Linked DNA regions of Homo sapiens: region 2 is linked to region 1. The links are contacts of gene promoters, found by promoter capture Hi-C in blood cells and fetal thymus (Javierre and others, 2016). All regions are on one chromosome and are shown on one strand. The core of a region is centred on a gene start or on the middle of the fragment in contact, and the rest is flanking DNA. Distances in the headings are between cores, read along the strand shown. Region 1 overlaps MTDH (metadherin). Region 2 holds the start of ERICH5 (glutamate rich 5).

Region 1 (3,910 bases), core at 1,144-3,643:
TTGAGACCAGGCTGGCCAACATAACAAAACCTATCTCTACTAAAAATACAAAAATCAGCCAAGCGTGCTGGTGCATGCCTGTAATCACAGCTACTCGGGAGGCTGAGGCAGAAGAATCGCTTGAACCCGGGAGGCGGAGGTTGCAGTGAGCTGAGATCACACCATTGCACTCCAGACTGGGTAACAAGAGCGAAATTCCATCTCAAAAAAAAAAAAAAAAAAAGAAAAAATTCTTATCTTCAAGAGTTTCCTTCCCAATATATCTTATCAATCCAATTAATTTTCATTCTTACTTTAAAAAAAAAAACCGCTGCAGATATTTCCTACCTTTTACAAGGTCTAACTTCCTTACATGACATATGATGTCTTCCACAAATTGATCTCAACCTTACATTCCTTTATTCATACATATGAGCATTTGATTCCTACAAGACTGGTACCTCTTTGAACATTCCTGTTTTTAACCAAGCTGCACTGACTGTGGATTTTTTCTCAGAACAAAGTGCTGGAGTGATTTTCTTTGCACCTGAATCATCTGCTCCCCTACCGATGTTCAATGCCTGAAATGGCCTGTACTCATTTTTTTTTTCTGACCCAGCTCACGTTCCACTCCATTTGCTTTATCTCTACCACTGTCCCCCTTTTCCTTTCCCCTAAATACATATAATCTTGCATCTCAAAACATTTAAAACTGAAAAAGATTTGGTCATTTGTCACAAACTTCCTTGGGACATTTCCAGTATGGCTATACCTTTCCATGTGTTAAAGTGTTCCCAGTTTTCTAATAATAAGCTTCTTAAAAGCAAAAGAACAAGAGATATTTCATTATATTCTCAACAGAATCTCTACTTCCCTTTATTTGAATGCTTCATGATCAGCACTGATAGAAATACGCTTTTGAGGAAGCCTGTCTAGCATTTGAAATTAGCAGGGGTTCAGATACTGCATGAAACTAACGACCTTTAACCCAAAACCTCTGAAATTATTCAAAACAGACATCACTCAATGTATCAGAAGTCATCTCAAAAAATCTGTATGTTAATTTTCCTATTAGCTTTCACTAAATTTCACATTATGTCTTCTTTCCATCTCATATACATAATACAGATATTACCAACAAAGTAGGCTATAGTATAGTCCCATTAGAAAAAAATCTTTGTGTTATATGTTAAGTACATGTATAGGCATGTGTGCACATGTATGTGCATGTATACATACACACACCATAACACTCCTAAAAGAGGAATGAGTTAAATGACAATGAATACATATTCATTGGGACTACAAACAATATTTGCACGTGGAACAGCAAATGGCTCCATTCTTTTAAATCTAGATGATGAGCTGGGTGCGGTGGTACATGCTTGTAATCCCAGCACTTTGGAGGGGCTGAGGTGGGCCGACCGATTGAGGCCAGGAGTTTGAGACCAGCCTGGGCAACACGGCAAAACTGTGTCTCTACAAAAAATAAAAAATTAGCTGGGCATGGTGGTGCACACCTGTAGTCCTAGCTACTCGGCAGACTGAGGTGGGAGGATCACTTGAGCCCAGGAGGTCGAGGTTGCAGTGAGCCAAGATTGCACCACTGCACTCCAGCTTGGGCGACAGAGCAAGACCTTGTCTCAAACGAACAAACAAAAAAACTAGATGACGAAAAGGCTTTGATAAATAATCATTAGATCCACCATTACAACTTTCTAAAACTGCCAAAGATATATACTGAATAAGACAGATTGATAATTCCTTAGGAAATTATGACGAATAAGTTCCAAAAATTCTAGTATCTTATTAGGAGTTACTCAAAATAAGTAAATAAGCAGTGCCAATACTCAATTGCTAATCAATATATGGAACATATGGTAACTCACTTAAATACCTGAGTAAATATGCCAGATAAAGGGGTCTGCTATCACTCTTGTAACAGCGGGTTAAATAAGCTTGTTGTTCTCATACTTCCATGGGAAAAAATTGAGCATATACCCCAAGATATTTGTTTATAAATTTTATACACATTCTACTACACTGATAGTGTATACATTTGTAAAATATAACTATTTTTAGTGATAGCAATATCAATGCACATGCTTCATTCTTTCGAATATCTTCTAAATGCATTCATTTTAATATCTGGTATTAAATATTGTTATACTTGAAAAAGTAAGAAGATCAAAATGGAAGACACATGATTGGCCATGCTTACTGAAATACGACACTAATTTTTCAACCTAATTCTCCAACTATGCAAAAGTTTTTGTGAAAATTCAGCCAGTAAATTTTAATCTTTAACATCAATACATTGTTTCTGTATTGAACTGTAGATCAGAAAGTTCTACAGTTTTTGGTACTTTCTACTTTATTATTATTATTACTATTATCATCATCATCATTTTGTTCTTGTTATTACCATGGGTGAGATAATTTTTTTTTGTATTTTTAACAAGTGAATTCACTAAAAAGACAAAATTTTACATCTGGTTTATAGCTATTACTTACATAGTTCCATTTAAATTCTCAAAGTAACCCTAGGTAAATGCTATTCTATCCATTTTGTAGATAAGAAAAGGGAGGCACAAGTGATTACTAACCAACCCCCAAATCACATCATTAGTCAAGTGTTAGAACTGGAATTGGATCCCATGTACTCGTGCTCTGGAATCTGGGCTGTTAGGCTATTTTTCTGTTAGAAAATTGCTCCCAAGCTGGGCAGATATGAGGATTTTCACATCTAACGTACAAACGCTCTTTAATAACAAATCATGCAATGATGTAAGTTTGTCAGAATACACTCTTCATTGCATGAGTTTCTTTCAAAAATTGGCTATTTTCTGACATCTTGTTAAGTAAGCTTTCCTTAAGCGTGAAGGGGCAGATTCAGTATAAATTCTTTGTAAAAGTATCTGGTAAGCAGACAACCATTTATCTTTATAAAAAAGATAAACAGACTTGGAACACTTCATTTTTCATAAAAGAAAAATAGGCCAGTCAAGGTGGCTCATGCCTGTAATCCCGAAATATTGGGAGGCTGAGGTGGGAGGATTGTTTGAGGCCAGGAGTTCGAGACCAGCCTGGGTGACTAAGCAATTCTGTCTCTCTCTCAAAAAAAAAAAAAAAAAAAAAAAAGAAGGAAGGAAGGAAGCAAAGGAAACAGAGAGAGAAAGAGGGAGAAAGGAGAAAAAATGTATGACTCGCTTTTAAAAGTTGTTCAGCTTTATCAAAGTATTTTGCTATAATAGAGTCAATGAATCCTCTTGTAAAATCTTTGCATCATAAAAGATGATTATCACCTTCACCCTTACTGTAATTTGAAGGTCTTCCAATTTGCCATCTGGCATTAATCTCTTTTGTCATCATAGTTTTCTAGAAATAATGTAGTAAATAAATTTCACACATGGTGGTATCTCTCCCTAACTCTCCATTTATTTTTTTAATTCCAGTCAAAGCCGTCCATCAGTGGTTTTTGTTTAGTTTTTCCACAAACATTCAAAAAAGTTAAATAAGTGATTTACAGTTGAGAATATATCTTTGTGGATATCTCTTTAATTGCTCACAAAAGTGGTTCTTCATGTGTTTCATTACTGAAATAGAATCTAGCAAGTACTCCCAAGCTTTAATGTTAGAAACATCTGTACATTATCCCTACCAGGCTGGGAAATTTGCTCTGGTACTAATTTATTTAATATCATTAGCAACATTTTTATGCTGCATCAAACAGTATATGCTAATGAATGAATGCATTTTGATTGGCTGTAATATTGTTTTTTGCTAATTACCATGGCAGAGGAACAAGTGTTTCCCCATAGTATTTCTTTCTCTATTTAAATAAGAAACCCTCAAGAAATGCATCCAGTCATTTATAATTAAATTCAGTAAAATTTTGTCATATAGAATAATGCATAAATAAATACCTCCA
Region 2 (3,513 bases), core at 871-3,370, 390 kb before region 1:
CGCCGCATATTAGGTTAATTTTCTAAGGGCTAGAACTGGCTGTCAGGCATTTTAACATCTCTTCCATAACAACACCTATGAAAACTCAGAACAGCAATGAAAGCAAGAATAAAAAATGGAAGAGTGTAACTCACGTGGAATAGTTATTAATATTGATGATAAAATATTTTTAAAGATAAAGTTATTCATTATTTTCTGAGAGGATTAAAAACTGCATTCCACCTACTGAATACTTTTGCCCCAAAGTTACATTCCCTGAAATACATGTTTTAATCAGTTTAAAACTATGTAATGGTGACTCAGTACTCTGCTTGTTAAACCAGGATGCTACTCCTAGGATAACTGAAGCACAGCATGGGGTAGAGAAGTCAGAATAATAAAATGTATCTTCCTGAAGCATCTGTTTTCCCTCGGCTTTTCATATTGAAACCCACAAAAATCTATCATAGAACAGAATGCAAAACTCTACTTAATTTCATAACATAAAACACGAAACATCGAAACATCGGAGAAACTCCTTGCTCTGTCCTCTTGTTGCAGGTATGGAAGCTCTGGGTTCTTTAGGAGAAAAGTTAGTGAGCACTGTGCATTAGAAATGAATTTTTCCATCTTTTCACATTGTTGTCAGTGAGAAGGGGTTTACTTTTATAATGCTTTTAATTTTTTGTTTACTTCCTGACTTGTCATTGCTTTCCGTTATCTATGGAAACTAGAAATAAATTCTCATACACCACAAAAATAACAGCAACACAACATATTTCTGACTAGGACACAGCGGCTGAGCTTTGAAAAGCATTCCTCACCGTCTGGTGCGCTCTACCAACAACATCAGAGGAAGACATTTCTGTTACTGCAATAACACAAGGTGCTAAGAGAAAATCTGTGAAAAGGAATTCACTCCAGTACAAAATCCCCGCTAAAGTTCGCCTTGCAGAAGACTGTAAACTAGCTTGACGGAGTTTGCTTAACCTCCATAGCATTGTCCAAAATTTTAGCCATTCAAAATCTAAGAAAAGTGAGTCGGCTGTAAAACCCTGTCATTCTCTAATTCATGTAACTGCGTTTATACTTTTCACAGTACTTATCACTGTCAGAAACGATCTTAGCCAATTGTTTCACGTGTTTCTTTTCTGTCTCTTCTATCTTCAATCTCTACAAACAGGGTCACTTGTATCTCCAGCATCTAGCCAAGCACTGGGGTATTATATAGCAGATGCTCAAAATGTCCTTGTTGAGTTTCTTCAGCAAGAGTCAGTGATGACCACTTTTGATCACACATACTTCTCAACTGATACTTAAGCCGAAGATAGGGGAAAGTGTGTCTGACCTATTCAGAGTGCAGGGACCCATTTGATGGAGTGAATGCTCCTCTGGATTCTCCGCATCTTTTGCCATCTTTGATGCTGAAACGCTAATGGGAGGGTAAATGGGGAAAAGTCTTTTTTGTTGGTGTTTTAGTAGAGACGGGGGAGCGGAAGATCTCGCTTTGTTACCCAGGTTTTTCTCGAACTTCTGGTCTCAAGAGATCGTCCCGCCTCAGCCTCCCAAAGTGCTGAGATTGCAGTCGTCAGCCACCGCCCCCAGCCTTGGTAGAAGGCCTTGATAGGACATTTCTCCTGTGTTTAAGGCAATGCCGAGGCTAACCGCCTTAGGGCCTCAACACCAACTCCCCGAGATCCCATCAGCGGACAGGGTGAATCCAGCGCCCGGCCTCGGGCCCCGCGCGTCTCGCAGCGAGCGCCGCGGAGCGCACCAGGGCCGCCGCACCCGCGGTCACAGCAGCGCCGCTCCAGATTTGGAAGGAAATCGCGCTTTGTCCCGGGTTCTGCTCGCATCCTCCGGGACAAGGCCCGGCTCCTGCCAGGCGGGGTGGCCACGGGACACACCCTTTGGACCTCCTGGGGAGTTAGCCCACCCGAGTCCCCAGCCCGGGCGCGGGCGGCGCCGGTACCCTGCTCACCGCTGGGGAACCTGCTGCTGTCGCCGGCCTTGTTGAGGGCGCTGCTGGAGCAGCCCATTGCGGGGAGCGCAGACACCTGTCTCAGCCCTGCGCGGGTGTCGGCCCGGAACCGGGAACCGAAGGCAACTGCACCCGTAGCCGCGGAAGTTTCTCCAGCTCTGCAGCCCGGCTCCCTTGGGCGTAGAGCGCAAGCGCGCAGCGGGGCTAATGGTAGGGGGTGCGCACCTGGAGGAGGAAGGGAGCTGGCAGGAGGTGGAAGGAGCCTGGGAGCGCAAAGCGGAAGAGAGCGGGAGGGCCAGGACGCAGAGGAGGGCAGGGAGGAGTAGAGCCCAGGAGACAGGAGGGGAGACGGTGGAGGGTATGGCACAGTAAGAGAGGAAAAGCCCCTAAAGCAGGGATAGGGAGGATGTCAGGGGGCGAGGGCGAAGCGCTGGGAGGTATCATCTGACTCATCACTAAATAGCCAGGGAGGCGAGGCGGCCTTGGGACTAGGGGCTATTGATTGGTAGACTAGATGTGCGATGACAGTCTTATTTTCTTACATAACTACAATTACCACAAGGAAGTTTAACTTTGATACAGTACGATTTAATCCACCCTCCATGTTCCCTTTTTGCCAATTGTCCAATCCAGGACTGCACGTTGCATTTAGTTGTGTCTCTCTTTAGTTTGCTTTAATCTGAAGTAGTTCCTCCAGTCTTGCTTTGTCGTTATGACTTTGACATTTATTAAGAGAATAGATTTTTTTTTTTTTTTGAAACCGAGTCTCTCTCTGTTGCCCAGGCTGGAGTGTAGTGGCGCAATCTCGGCTCACTGCAACCTCTGCCTCCCGGGTTCAAGCGATTCTCCAGCCTCAGCCTCCAGAGCAGCTGGGATTACAGGCGCCTGCCACCGTGCCCAGCTAATTTTTGTAATTTTAGTAGAGACGGGGTTTCACCATATTGGTCAGGCTGGTTTCGAACTCCTGACCTCAGGTGATCCACCCGCTTCGGCCTCTCAAAGTGCTGGGATTACAGGCATGAGCCACTGCGCTCGGCCTTTTTTTTTTTTTTTTTTTTTCCGGAGATGGAGTCTCACTGTGTCACCAAGACTGGAGTGTAGTGGCGAGATCTCAGCTCACTGCAACCTCCACCTCCCTGGTTCAAGAAACTCTCCCTGCTTCAGCCTCCTGAGTAGCTGGAATTACAGGCATGCGCCACCACGTCTGGCTATTTTTTGTATTTTTTAGTAGAGACGGCGTTTCACCATGTTGGCCAGGCTGGTCTTGAACTCCTGATCGCAGGTGATCCGCCCGCGTGGGACTCCCAAAGTGCTGGGATTACACATGTCAGCCACCGCACCCGGTGAGAACAGGCTTTTTTTTTTTTTAATTTGAGACACGGTTTCATTCTTGTTGCCCAGGCTGGAGTGCAATGGCACAATCTCAGCTCACCACAACTTTCGCCTCCTGGGTTCAAGCAATTCTCCTGCCTAAGCCTCCTGAGTAGCTGGGATTACATGCATGCGCCACCACACCCTGCTAATCTTGTATTTTTAGTAGAGATGGGGTTTCT

The links. The method cuts DNA at HindIII sites, captures the fragments that hold promoters and counts their contacts. A CHiCAGO score of 5 or more calls a contact.
Region 2: the fragment with the promoter of ERICH5 here is called in contact with a fragment that was not itself captured in region 1 in 6 of 17 cell types (fetal thymus, naive CD4 T cells, activated CD4 T cells and 3 more); the score reaches 7.8 in fetal thymus.

The regions. Positions count from the first base shown.
Region 1 is chr8:97,677,805-97,681,714 of GRCh38, reverse strand. All of the region lies in intron 2 of MTDH (metadherin), which reads right to left. Among named protein-coding and RNA genes, the nearest start is that of MTDH, 36 kb to the right of the region's middle. RefSeq lists a silencer at 3,017-3,217. The HindIII fragment of the contact is 908 bases long and covers 1,940-2,847 here.
Region 2 is chr8:98,063,175-98,066,687 of GRCh38, reverse strand. ERICH5 (glutamate rich 5) reads right to left here and starts at 2,120. Exons shown (of 3, transcript NM_173549.3): 1 at 1,961-2,120. The coding sequence starts at 2,018. RefSeq lists an enhancer at 1,680-1,739 and a silencer at 1,980-2,079. The HindIII fragment of the contact is 8,700 bases long and covers 1-3,513 here.